Regions from separate parts of the Homo sapiens genome. Here region 1 is linked to region 2. The links are contacts of gene promoters, found by promoter capture Hi-C in blood cells and fetal thymus (Javierre and others, 2016). All regions are on one chromosome and are shown on one strand. Each heading gives the region's core, a stretch centred on a gene start or on the middle of the fragment in contact. The rest is flanking DNA. Distances are from core to core; before and after follow the strand shown. Region 1 overlaps LOC125312414 (a long non-coding RNA gene). Region 2 holds the start of LINC00970 (long intergenic non-protein coding RNA 970).

Evidence for each region. The method cuts DNA at HindIII sites, captures the fragments that hold promoters and counts their contacts. A CHiCAGO score of 5 or more calls a contact.
Region 1: a contact is called between a fragment that was not itself captured here and the fragment with the promoter of LINC00970 in region 2, in 1 of 17 cell types (naive CD8 T cells). The highest score is 5.9, in naive CD8 T cells.

The regions. Positions count from the first base shown.
Region 1 is chr1:168,419,979-168,427,353 of GRCh38, forward strand. It overlaps LOC125312414 (a long non-coding RNA gene), which reads right to left. Exons shown (of 8, transcript NR_176090.1): 5 at 2,152-2,226. It overlaps LOC100505918 (a long non-coding RNA gene), which reads right to left and starts at 2,678. Exons shown (of 5, transcript NR_176059.1): 1 at 2,612-2,678; 2 at 2,152-2,226. The HindIII fragment of the contact is 4,174 bases long and covers 3,096-7,269 here.
Region 2 is chr1:169,081,217-169,088,259 of GRCh38, forward strand. LINC00970 (long intergenic non-protein coding RNA 970) reads right to left here and starts at 5,789. Exons shown (of 5, transcript NR_104091.1): 1 at 5,739-5,789. The HindIII fragment of the contact is 14,978 bases long and covers 1-7,043 here.

The DNA.
Region 1 (7,375 bases), core at 3,933-6,432, 660 kb before region 2:
AGACGAAAGATGTACTTAATTAAAAATAAAGCCCAACACCAGAGAAAGATGTCTTGTAGACAAATTTTCTAGCCCTAGTGTTACCCACCTGTGTTGCTAATGATGGTATACTTTTTAATGTGAGTCAACACGTGCTGGCTCCCATTTTCAGTGTTCCTAGATTTTTATCTGCCTGCCTTATTTTCAGAGGAACTGGCCTAACATCTCATGAGTGTTGATACTATTAGAACTGACCAATATTTGGGTTGGTTGGGGGGTGGGGTGGGCCTGGGAGGCTGGCTTTCCTGTTGGTCTCTAGCCTGTAGAACTGTTGTTGTCGATCATGTAGAATGAAAACTCCAACTTTAATGGTGCTCATTACATCATTCACTGTCTGAAGAGCATGCACACTGTAAGTTACCACAAGAAATGATAGCCGAGGATGGAAGCCTGAATATATTTGATCTTCATGATTTCAGTGTCTGGAGTGATGACTAGATATCTTTGTACCACTTTCCTTTCTAGTGGCTGAAAAGGTGTCTGATTCAACAGAAAAGTCCTTCAAAGTTTATACAAAACAATTTGTCTCAGAGCTTCTTGATTATGTAAAGGCCTCTTTAGCTTTGAAATGAGAAAATAATCGGAATCTTCCTATTACATTCTGGGAAACATACTCAGAGACATAACAATTCAGGAGGAAAAAAGGACAAAATGCCTTCCCGTCTCACCAAAATTGAATTAAATAAGTGGAGCCTGGCAAAGGGCAGGCTTTATGTAGAAGTGATTTCCCCCTAGATCTAGAGATGACCTGATAGCCAAAGGTTGAGATTCATTTGATTAAAGCCTAAACTTCCATCTTTTATGTTATGAGTCTCTTTGAGATTTATAATCCTCATTTATAAAATGGGATTAATATTTTTACTTGTTAGTGTTACAACAAAATAAGATAATATAAGGTTTGTAAAGCACCAAGCACACAAATATTAGATTACTTTTCCTTGCCTTGGTAGCAAAACTCTCTAAAAAACTCACTTATTATGAACATGTTGAATTTGTTTGAAAAGTAGAAAGAGAATAGTAAGATGAACACAACTTAAGATGAACACACCTAGATTTAACAATTGTTAACATTTTACCATATTTACTTAATCTCTTTTTAGTTATTTTCTGAAGAATTTGAAGTAAATTACAGACATAACTTTATTTTAACTTGAAATATTTAACATGTGCCTTGAAAAATGAACATATTCCCCTATAACTACAGTATCACTTTAGTCTAACAAAACTGATAATAATTTCTCAACATCAGCTGATACTTAGTCTATATTGAAAATTTCCGGTGGTTTCCAAATGTCTTTCAAAGCTGATTTATTCAAGCAAGATCCTGATATGAGCATCTCATCAGGGAACTCTATTTTATCTCATTGCTGCCCACTAAGGGGGCCAACCTTGTTCTGTTGTTTACTAGTCAGCAGATCTGAAATTCCTCCGTAAGTCAGGCTAGGAACATACTTTAAGCTAACTCAATACACAAACTTAAAAAGATAAATTGTGCACAACAGCAAATGACTCATATGTTTTCAGGGACTGTTTGAAGACTTGAAGTTGTGGTCTTCCTTTTGGTACATCTCAGCGTGCAAGCATAGGTGCTTGAATGACAGGAAGATGATTAGTGATAGTGGGTTTGGGGTGATGCAAACAGGAAGAAAAACTCATTTACATGGGGAATCTAAAATAATTAAATGTACAGAAGCAGAAAGTAAAGTGGAAGTAGGAAGGGAAACTAAAATTCGGGGATCCCAGTGGAGGAGGTGGCTTTGCATGAGGATGGAATGGACTCATCAGTACCCCACATAGGTTTAACTTACCACTTATCATGGCTCAGTGGAAAGGCACAGATCTGGGTCCAGATCCCAGCTCCACTCTTCTAGCTGCATGACCTTGGGAAAATTACTATACATTTCATACTTTAGTTTTGTTTTTTCTTCTGTGTTGTGCTAATACTTTTGTCTACTTTCCATAGATGTTGAAGAGATTATAGCAGGTGAACATAGAGTTCTAGTTATATAGTAACCGCACATAAAAAGTATCTATCTATCTATCTATCTATCTATCTATCTATCTATCTATCAATCATCTATCTTCATTATTATTATTATTACAATACTTTACCTCCTATGGTGGTTGGTGCTTCCAGCTCTATTGATGAATGCATCCCACACACAATTGTGCTCAAAATGTCATGACCTAAAGTGAAATAAATACAGGAGACATAGAGACTTATCATAGGATAGGGGTTTTTTGTCATATTTCAAGCAAAGCAGTTCTCCCCTGATCCCTGTCCATCTCCTAACCCTCTTGGTCCATATGGAGGTACTGCAGCTCAAGGTCACAAGGCTATCCATGGCTGAAGCCTCTCTCTAACTCCCAGATGCCAAGACCTTGCAAAGCTCTGCCTCCTGCTGGCCCTACTTCCCAAGGTCAGTCCTGGACCTAGCCCGGTGGCCAGAGGGTCTTATAAGCACCCTCAGCTCAGCTCCAAAGAGAAAACTATCTCTCCCAACTACCTTGGTGGCCAAATTATCCTTTTCTAAAGCAGCTTTATTCCTATAGAATTTAGAAAGCAAAATACTTTTGTTTTCCCAGGAGAGAGGTTTTCACAACAGTGTTTGGCAGGTACTTGTCATTGCTCAAGGGTTGCTAGGAGACAAATGAAGGCTGGCTTAAGACAGTTGCAAAGCATGGAATTCTACTCTCTAGAACTGCAGTCTTGATTTCAAATTTTAGCTTGCATCTGAATCACCTGGGGGTAGTTAAGATTCAGGTTCCTGGGTCTCTGGGTCTGGGATAGCTTGTGTTTCTAATAAACCTTCTAGTATAGATGACCCAGGGATCAGGATCACACTTGGAGAAACATGGAAGCAAGTCAACTTGCCTAACAGTGAGTCTGTGGAAGTACCTCTCTGGCAATTGGTTTTCAGTGAATTGATTAAGAGCTGGGAAACATTTTCCTAAAGAAAATAGGGTCTTTTCAGCATGATTTCAGGGATATAGATCTCCACAGTCATTTATCAGTGCTGGAGTGGTGTTCGGGATTCTTTGCCTTTATTATCAAAAGCTTCTGTAGCCTGTTATCATTGACCTGATCATTGACCAGGTAGCCAGGAGAGGGAAGGAGGAGCTTTCTAGGCCATGGAACGTCACGTGAAAGGCCTGTGAAGGGAAACATATGAAGAGCTGAAGGATCTGAAAGGTATTCAGCAGGTAAATTAATATGATTTGGTGCTAGATTGGCTTTGGGGAATAGCATGGAAAAGATGATGCCCATGATGGGTTCTGGTTTCTGCTTATCCACCTGGTTGGTATCATTCAGGAAGTTAGGAAACACTAGGAGAAGAGTCTTGTCTTTTTTTATTGTTTCTTTGTCTGGAGGATTGGGAGATGGAAATGAGGATTTGGTTTTGGACCTGATTAATCTGAGATGCTTTTGAGATATCTAACGGAGATGATAAGTAGGCAGCTGGGCTGATGGGCATGGGGCTGGAAGGCATCTGGGTTCGACACAGAAAACTATGGGTCATGTGGGAATTGGTGGTTATGGAAGCTGTGGGTATGGGTGAAAATTTCCAGGGATAGTGTAGAGGGAGAATCATTGAGTTCTAATGATTGACCCTGAGGAATCTTAACAAGTAAAGTACAGGGAGAAGGGGAGGAGCCAGCGAAAGGAAGCCTGAGGGAAGCTAATTTTTCTCAAGTGAAAAGTTTAGGCATTAAAAGTCAACTGGAGGGGCCGGGCACAGTGGCTTATGCCTATAATGCCAGCACTTTGGGAGGCAGAGGCGGGAGGATCGCTTGAGGCCAGGAGTTTGAGACCAGTCTGGGCAACATAGCAAGACCTCATCTCTATTAAAAAAAATTAACTGGAAGAAACCAGTTGTTAGAAGGAGGTTGAATGTACTAGAGAGAGAAAGATTCCACATGAGATGTACATAGAAAGGCAGGAAGGATGGGACCTACAGCCCTGTGTTCCAAAGAGGTTATGGTGACACTGTCACAAAATATTTTGCTGAATATCTGTCAGGACACAGGTATTCTGAGAGTGTCACAGGGTTTTTGATCTCTGAAGGGCTAGTGTGCTTTGGCTTTGGCTTTCACGTTGACTCCTCTGCCTGGGGAAGAGAAGTCTCTATGTACATGCAAGAGCTGTGCATTTTTACAGAGACTCAGGGCTGAGAAGGGTTTCTGTGTGGGAAAGTTTATCTCCAACATTGCCTTCAACCAGGCTGGTCATGCAGTGTCCATAGTGCTCTGTGCCCTGACTTGGCTTCAAAAGGAATGGCCTGGAGAGACCAATACTTGTTTATTCTTTTCTATTTTCCTCTACTGAATTATGCAGCCATACAGGATTCCTATTATAAATTCCATGAATCAGCTCTTCCTAATGAAAGATTTTTGCATTTTGGGGCAATTTTTGTGGAAATATTTTGCAAAATGTGAAGTGACAGCTGCCTCTTGTCAGACACCCTGATTCCAGCTGCACTAGCAATTTGGGTTCCAGAAAGTTCTCAGACAGGAAGGAGTCATGCTATAGACACAAAACAACCCATACATTTAATTCCACTGGAACTGCATTTAGATCCTACGGTCATGCTAGAGAAAGTTTGTAATTCTGGAATGGTTGCTGAGAAAGACTGTTTCCAGATTTTTACGCATCTATTTGTAATTTCTTGGTACCGATGATCAGTTTAATGAATGTCAACTGAGCACTTTGTCCAAGTCCCTGGGTGGGAGACAGATGAACAAGGCATGGTCCACATTACCAGAGTGCTGGGGATAGATGGATTCACAGACACAAAGTCATCATCTCTGCAATACAGAGGAAACAAAATGAAATGAAACAGTAACACAGAAGCAGAGAAGGTGAGGGAGGTGATGGAGTGTGTTTGTGTGTGTGTGTGTGTGTGTGTGTGTGTATTTAAGGGTGACACTGGCAGAGCTAGGACAAAGGCTGGAACTGGAAAATGCTCATAGAGCAGATGACAGTCAAGTTGGATCTTGAAACATGGGTGGGAGTTTGAGAGGCAAAGATGGAGGGTGAAGTGGGGAAGCCAAAGTCAAACACAAGGTCTGTTTGGTTATATTTGCTGAGCAGAGCTGTTACTTTGTACCTCTCTAGTCCACACACCTTTGATGAATTCCCACCACTTGCAAAATAAAGCCTAACCCTACAGCCAGTTTGGAGTAGGGAATGTCTGGCCATGCAGTTGATCTTCATTTTGCAGGTAGTGGAGAGTTATTGAAGGAGTTTGGCCTGGAGAGGTCCGAGGTAACAGCTCTGCTTAGCAAGGTCACCAAGGGGAGAAGCAGAGGAGTGAGTTGCGGGGCAGAGAGGCCTGTTGGGGGGCTGTGGCAAAATCCTAGGTGAGAATCCATGAACAAGAATGAGAATAGGAACAATGGGACTGAAAAAAAAAGATGGCAGCTATGAGGGAAGGACATAGAAAGGAAAGGGTGAAGTCAACAATGAATTGGAATCAACAGACGTATTTACTCAGCAGAGACAGTTAATGTTTCTCCCCTACCCCTAATATTTCCTCTCTTCCTCTTCTTTTGTTATGGAAATACTAGCTAGGTACGTGGTTACTCAGGATAAAGACTACATTTTTTTCCAGCCTCCTTGCAGCAAGGGGTCTCTAGGTATCAAGTTTTGGCTAACAGGATGCAATGGGACAGTTTCTGCATGCTCTCTCTTCCTTCTCCCCCTACCCCCATTTCAATTCTTGGATGTGGCTGGGATGGTTGAAGCCCCTTCCAGTCATTAACAAGGGCTCTGCAGGACTGGTCAACAAAAGAGAAGGAGTCTTTGTCCCTGACACCATGGACCAGCCTGGTAAGCACCCAGACTTTTATGGGAGGAAGTAATAACTACGGTCTTCGTTAAGCTACTGTTATTTTGGGTTTTCAGTCACTCACAGGTAAACCTAATTTGAGCTGATATAAATGGTGACTGATTTTGGCTTCTGCTGACAAACCCAGAGACTAAAGGTAGGAGCCTGGGCCCCAGGAGAGGGGATGTTGGAAGGAACATCCCATTCAGGAGAGCAGGGCAGGTTCTGAGCACAAGGTAGCAGGCTAATGCTAAGAAGAAAGATGATCAGGAAGAACCTCTGCCCATGTGCTGTCTTTCGGCCCTGGTAGAGTTTGTCACATGCTAGAGTCCTTAGTTAGCAATGTCTTAGGAAGTGAAGGGGGATGCCAGTGTCCAGGCTTGGCTTTACAGAGAACAGGATGAGCAGCTTGGGCAGCCAGGAGAAGCTGTTATGAGTTGGCCAGGGATAAAGGACAGAGAGGGGGTATCTGGAAGAGGCATAAGAGACATCTTGGACAACATAAGCACTTCTGGGCATCCTTAGATGTATTTGGGAGGGTACTGATAATTTTGTCTTGCATAATGGGGGAGCTCAGATGGTCATCTTCCAAATATCAAAGGGGACAATTTGCATTTGGCCTTAGGTTAGAGGTTGGCCTAGGTGACCTCTAAAGCTATTTTCAAGTCTAAGAATCTATGATTCCATAAAACAATCAAATCACTAGCTTGATTTCCTAGTAGACATCATTCTTGTTTCCCCTCAACTGACTCTAGGCCAGAATCTTTTCTGCCAAGAGTAATGTGTTCAGATGGTGTGCATGTACTGGCCGGTGGGGCTAGGATAGTAACATTGTGATTGGGTTTTCAGTCCACTAAGGTCCTGCTAGTGCTGACCCTGAAATGGGACCAGACTTGAGAATCACCTGGGAGGAGGGCCAGGATGCGGATGGAAATGGAAGTCCTGGAAAGGAACACTGGGGTGAGTGCCAGGCCATACGATACTTATTTTTAGAAGGTGTAATGATCAAAAACAAATTTTTGAGCAGGAAGCATTCCAGGACTGGATCTGGGGGCTGGGATCCCAGGAGAAGGGAAGCCAAAGGGACAGGTAAGGTCCAATCTGATGTGGCTGGTGGCAGAGAGGGTGGCTTCACTTGGGGAAGCCTCTGTCTGTTTATTTTTTAATGTGCAGAAATGCTGAATGAGAGAGATATGATTTAAACTAGGGAATTGGAACTAGCTGCAGAAACTCCATTTACATGTCAACCAGTACCAGGGGGCACTGTGGAATGTGCAATGATGTGCCTTTTGCTTAATCTGTGCATATATTGTATCCTGAGACTTTCTGACACTGTAGAATATGCTTTCTTATGGAGAACTGGGTAGGCAGCTGGGGAGGAAGTTCCTGATTCCGGAAGCAAAGCTTCTGAAAGAGAAATGCCTGCTGCCCTGGGTGGCAGCTCTGGAAAGTTAGCCAAGTGGTGGCAAAACCAGGAGGGAGATTTCATCATGAGGACCAGATCTGGG
Region 2 (7,043 bases), core at 4,539-7,038:
GCTCCTCAGCATCTCATTCACAAAGGCTCTGAGCAGCTCTGAGACAGGGCTCCTCTAAAGGACATTTTCCCTTCCAGTCAAAGGTTTTGCAGAAATAACAAGTTCCCCGAGTCAACATTTTAAATACGTCTGTACACTTTAGGTGTTTTTATGTTTGGAGTCTTTGCTAGTTTCAACAGTGTCCACATTAAGGAACTGGGATGAAATCGAGGAAGATAAATCAGCTGGGATCTCCATTTCCTAAAACATCGGGAGCTGTTAGCCAGAAGAACAGCACATCATACTTTGATCAGGAAATTAAAATATTCTCCTAAGAAAATCCAAATGTAAAACATGTTCCAAATTGAATTCCAGTTGCAGAAATATTTTTGGCAAGTAAACAGCAGGGGGCTGAGAGCCTGGTCTGTGCCAGCCTTGCTGACTCCACCAACCGGGGTGGAAATATCTGACCTATGGGTAAGCAAAAGCCCATGCAAGGAAGGGAAATGTTTGCTGGCTGGGCCCTCCAGCCTGCTCCCTAGACTCCAAGGCATAGAGTATTGCGACACTGAAAGGTGAATGTTGGAGACAGGCAGCTGGGGGAGAGGGAAAAGAGGTATTAGATGCTAAGGCCATATACAAGCTACTTCCTAGGCCCAGTGAATCTGAAGCGGGTACAGTGGGAGAATAAGCCTGGGCCAGCCAAAGCTGTGCTAAGGGCCACTCCGATCCGGCCTTTGGAGGAGCCCTGTCTTAGAGCTGCTCAGAGCCTTTGTGAATGAGATGCTGAGGAGCATCTGGAATTCCCCAGCACCCCTGAGTGTGGACCTTGGCTGGTTGCTCTCAACCTGGCTACAGTAAAGAAAGGAAAAAAAAATGATTTTAAAAGAAAATACCCATGATATATGCAACAACACAGATGGATCTCAAAAATAATTATGTCAAGTAAAAAAAAAGGCAGATTTTTTTAATGAGTACATACTCATGATTACATTAAGGTAAAACTCGAGAAAATGCAAATTAACCTATAGTGTCAGAGAGCAGATCACTGGTTGCTGGGGGGTGTGAGGTCAGAGGAAAGGATTACAAAGGGACACAAAACTTTGGAAAGTTTTGGGTGTGATGGATATGTTTACTATCTTGATTATGGTAATGCTTTCATGGGGGTTATATATATCAAACTTACCAAACTGTATACTTTAAATATGTGCAATTTCTTGTATGTCAATTATACCATAATGAAAAAGATCCCTATATAAACCTCACTCCCAGAGATTCTGATTCAGTTGGTCCAGGGTGGGATCTTGGCATGAAAATATTTAAAAATCTCCTGAAATCACAGCCCAGGTGCCAAGGGATGTGCCTGTAGTCTCAGCTACTTGGGAGGCTGATGTGGAAGGATCACTTGAGCCCAGGAGTTCAAGACTAGCCTGGACAACACAGTGAGATCCCATTGCTATGAAAAAAAAAATTCACCAAATAATTAAGAATGTGCAGCCAGGGTTAAGGTATAGAATCTTGCACGCCACAGTAATGACTTTGTTAATGATCTGCAATAAGATTGAAAGCCAGTTAACATTGCAAGAAATTCAAATCAAAACTTCCCTGCCAGCCCCAGTGCCTTTTGAGAATATGGGCCCCTTATAGGCAAGCAGTTACAAATGAAACTTTTATGAACTCTGATCAAGAGTCTGCAGGACCATTTCTACAATGAAGTATATCATACAGTTCCGAAATAAGTGGAAGTTTACGTTATTCCACACGTTTCAATTATCTTATTATGTTTATTGGTGGCATTTGTGGTGGGTGGTTTCTTTTATGTTCTGGGGAAACCTATCACATTTGGACATGGGTCTGTAGGTTTACTGCCAGGTAGGAAACTGGCTTTCGGTTGTCAACCCAATCAAGATTACTACTTTGCCCACTGTCTTTAGGTTTAAGAAGCTCACAGATTGTGTGTGTACCAACATCTACCACCCTCACATTCTCCTCAGACTTCTTCATGGACTCCTCAGTCAATTTACTTTCCTCTACAGATCATAACCCTCAGTTCCAGGAACAACTTGAATTACAAGATTCATTCTTTATGCAAGCAATAAGTGGCTTCTAATCCTAATATACATCCATTAGGAATGAGGCAGCAGACCAGTTTTCAGAACTGTTTTGTGCCAGAATGGTTGTTCATTCATGTGGTGGCCTGGGCTTTGGAGTCCAGTGGATCCAAATTAAAATCCCAGCTCTTCTACTGAATAGTTCTGCAACTTTTTGCAAATTACTGAACCTCTCTGAGCTTCAGTTTCTTAATTTATAACATGGAAATACAGCTCCCTTACAGAATTGCAGTAAGAGTTAAATGAGACATCCCTTCATTTATTTGTTTTCAAATATGCATAGTGAGAAAAAGAAAGCAGCCCCTGACATCTGGGAGCTGCCCTGATACCACTGCTAGGCCCTAGTGTTGCTACTAGCTGGCCCAGCACTCACAGAGAGGTTTTGGTGTTCTGTTAAACAGAAACAACTTCACACAACAGAGGAAACTCTGTGACCATAATGGAGCAAGACAAAAACAAGAACACTCCTCTGATCTTACATAAACAGACAAAAATGTGAACATTATTCAAATCTCAGAAATGCCTAAACATTCCCCTAGTCTGATAATATGAGTGACTGCTACTTCTTTGGCAATCATAGCTTTAGCCTAATTCTAGTCTTCACTCCTTATAGTCTTCACTCCTCATACTCAATTATTCCTACTTTCTGATAGCATCCAATCCAGAGCAGAGCCTGCTTCTTTAAACCCTTCTCAAAATAACCTAACACAAGCCCAATCCTTTACTAAGTCCTTCTGGCCCCTTTTTACTGAGATACCCCATGGTTGTCCACGGTGTGCATTCTGCCTCGTTGCAATGAGTAATAGGGCCAAGATGCTCAATGATAGGTGTGCTCCTGGTTATCTTTAACTGGAGGGTCAAGTGACAATAATGTCTGTCCTTTGCCAAGAAAGATGCTGAATTCTGGGCTTATGACTCCAAACAAATCATCTTTGCCCTGCCCTCAGGAAGCTCACAGTCTAATGGAGGAGACCTTGGAGCAGCAAGCAGAATGACCTCAAGAGTCATGACGAGTGAGACAAAACCCAACAGAGTATCACGTGTAATAGCCCTAAGACGTGTATGATCCTAAGAATATAAGAGAATAGGAAACCCCATCAAGGTCAAATGTATTTATTATTAACAAGAAGATAATGTATATAAATCTTACGATTCCATCAAGTTTAAGTTAGCGTTACTTGTAAATATACTGACAAATCTTAAGGGACAAGGAAATACAAAATCCAGTGAAGTGATCAATAAGAATGGGAACTACAGGCTTCCTCTGAGTAAACAAAGAATCAGATGGAATGACAAAGGCTGTGGGAGACCAGCCTCTTTAGTGTGAAAACCTATGACTCTATAAGCATTAAATAAGGCTAAGTCCCATCATGGTCACCAGGAAGACCATCTTCTGGGCAAAACTAACTTCATTTACCTGTGATGGCAAATGCCTTCCCTTAGGTAGGTTATGTGTTTCCTAACACCAGGAAGATTGAGAATTAAGTATGGAAAGATTTGAGAGACCCAAACCATAGTATTGATAATTTTGTATTAAAGAATAAAATTGTGTATAGTTGCTATTTTGTGTATTTGCAATTTTTAATAGAATCAGACCTATTAGAATGATAGCCTTGTAAGGCCCATTTAAAATACAATTGAGTAATTGATGTGAAATTTTATGGTTTTGAGTTCTTAAGTTTACTGGAACATACAAGAGAACCTTAGGATCCTATATTTATACATTTAAGAGCTTAAATGTATATGAGTATTAAAGTCCTCCAAAAAGTTTAGTTTGTTAATACAGACAAATGCATATAGGAAAAGAAAGAGATGGCGATTATAACTAATAATCATAGCTTAAACTATTTGAAAGTAATTAACTTTATTCATAGGCCCTTTAGAAGTGATTGCTAAACTCTGCTAGACTAAAAAATAAAATAGTAACAAACCTGTACATGTACCCCTGAACTTAAAAGTTGGGAAAAATATAAAATAAAATAATTACACATATAAGTTGAACCCAAATAAACTATGTTTTTAATCCTAACTTTAATAATCAGAATATTAATTTTTAATTCAGAAGTAAACCTTTAAATGCTGTTTCCAACAAACCTCCAAAAGCCAGTTTCAGTGACATCCAGAAACTCCTATCAAAATAAGCAATTGCCATAGTGTGTGATAAGTGCTGTAATGAGGGAAAGATAAAATACTATATAGGAAGAAGTGGGAGAGATGGAATTTCAGAGTGTCTAAGAGGGACCTTAAGGAGGAGGACTGGGAAGGCCAAGAAAAAGGTGTGAAGATTAAGGGAGGGAGGGAACAGCCAAAAGGAGTTCATTCCTTTACAAATTCTGAGTATGCACCAGGCACAAAACCAGGGGTTGGGGCTCCTTCCTGCTTGGAGCTCAAGGCCAGGAGGTAAGAGGGAGCTTGGCATCTTGAAGGAAGAGAAAGAACTTCAGTCTGAGTGCAGCCCACCCTGAGAGGGTCAGAGGAAGAGCCCACTCACTCCCCCTGGGTGGGTGAGCCTCCAGGCGCTGGTGGATGTAGGTCAACTACTAAGATGGTGCAGAAACCAGAAGGCCCTCCAACAACTGCTCCTCCTCCTTCAGGAAGTTCTTTGCTTAATTTATTTTTGCTTTGGGGGTCAGAAGCCTATTTGTAAAGCATTTAAACTTTGCTGGGACTCAGCTACTCAAACTATCAGCCCTTCAGTCCAGCATCCCTGAAGCCTAAACAGGCAAGAAGCTCATCTTTGGCTTCAGCCTGAGGTCATGGGCTGCAGGAACCGGTGGGATCTGTTTATCAAGACCACTGAAGACCTGCGGGAGGAAGGATCTTATCTCAGTGTTGCCATGGGGACTGCTGGCTGGATTGACTGAATGCTCTGCAGAAAATGACTCTTTTTTAGAAGAGAAAATAGTTGCTATTTTCCAAAGGCTAAATGTGGAGTGAGGTGGCAGTGAGGGGGAAAACAGAAGGCCTGTGAGGGTAAGAAGTGGGGACCAAGGCCAACTCTGGCTAAAGAAGAATGGGGACAGGCTGCTCCAGGACTCAAGAGCTTGAGATTCATGCTAACCCACTCCAAGAGTTCAGGCCTCCACCAGAGGACATGGCTCTATTCATACAAGAATTTTATACAGAAAATAGTAGATCTGAGATTTACAAAACTCATTTTCAATTTCATAGGCTACAGCCTTCAGATAACTCCAAGTCACATCACATGTCTAATAGTTGTCTCAGAAAGAAGTACCCAAAAGGCATTTCCTCCAAAGGTCCTTCAGAAACTGTGAAATGGGCTCTATTTGAAGAAAACCATTTCCATCAATGTGCGCAGAGCCTCAGTATGAGTGTGCAGCACAGCTGAGCCTGTCATCCCTCGGAACACAGTCTGGGATTGCCTGGTGGCTGTCTGGCTATAAGGACTTTGGACATTATCCCCAACTCCCCATGGAAGAATTTTCCCTGTGTTTCCCACCAACAATACTGAGCCAAACTGCTTTTGATGTCCCCGGAGTTATCTGATCACCTAGATGACACTGAACAGAGCAAGATGACTAGGAGACAGCAGCTCAGCCCTGACATCTGCTCAAGGCCAGCAGCAAAAGTTCCAGGAGTTATATGAGCCACTAGGTCCATCCAATCTACCATCTGTCACTGGCTTACCTTGCCACCTTGGGTCACTGACTTCCCCACTCTGTGCCATCTGTGAAATGTGCATAATAGCACACCAAGTCCTTCTGTACCTCCTCCTTCTTCTCCTGTTCTCTCTCCCTCCCTGCTTCCCTCTCTCCCTTCCTCCTCCCTCCCTCTCTCCCTTTCTTTCTCTCTCTCTACCTCTCTTCCTATCCCCCTCTCTCTCCTTCTCTCTTTTTCCTATAGAAGAGAGATGATGTGTTTGTAAAGTGCTTTGAGCTCCTTGGAGATAGAGAGTCTATAAATATAAGCTGTTATCACTGTTACCATGGAAACACACACAGACAACTGTGCTCTGTTTCTGCATTTGCTGAGCATAATTCTGGCCTTCTTGCCCTGCTGGCTGTTAAACAATCAATGGTTTTACAAAGCTCAACAGCCAGGTAATAGGTGGAGCCTCAAGGCTGAACTTATTTGCTATTCAACTCTTCTTCATGTGAATTTTCAAAAACTGTGTTTCTGTTTGCTAAGGTAGAGGATCGTATAAGATTGGCCAGAGCCAGCTGTTAAACCAGGGATGCAAATAATGACAGGCATAGGTATGCCACCCAACCCAGGACCCTGATCTGTAACAAGGGAGAATTCCAATGAGCTGCAAAAATAATATTCTACCCATTTCCTAAATTTACTCCAACTCCTAACTCCTCAACTTTACAACCAGAGCTGGCAAAATGTTGGAATAAAGAGAGTTATGAGTTTGCACCCTTCTGCCAATTTGTGACCATCTGAAAAGCAGGGGCTATATCTTTTTCATTATTGTCTCCACAGGGCCTAGCACAGTGCCTGCACATAGCAGATGCTGCGCAGAGGCCTGTGGAAAAAAAAAATGAATAAGCGAGTTATAAATGGCTGTTGTTTTCTATTACACAGGTAAAAGTGTTGTTGAGTGAGGTATGCCGTCAAATGTTGGCTTGGGCCTCGGGATCTCAGAGGACATCAGTTTTGGCATGGCCAATCTGCTTCCTTCACCCTACCATCATAGTGAGAACAACGATATCACTTCACTTCTAGTTTAATGGGTGGTCCTGGGAAAGTTGCTCTGTATCTGAAAGCCCCATATAGAATGACGTAACCTAGTTGTTAACCAGACAACTGAAAGATCCAGTGCAAAAAGTGAAAGTGTGAAAACCATAGGAAAAGTCCTTTTTCCTCTCAGGCAATGCTGTGATCTCAGGGGTAAGTTTTCCAGGCCTCAGTTAGGAATGCAGTGAAATGGGAATGGGCTTTGGACTCAGACACATCAGAACTCAGTGTGTGAGCTCTGCCACTTACTGA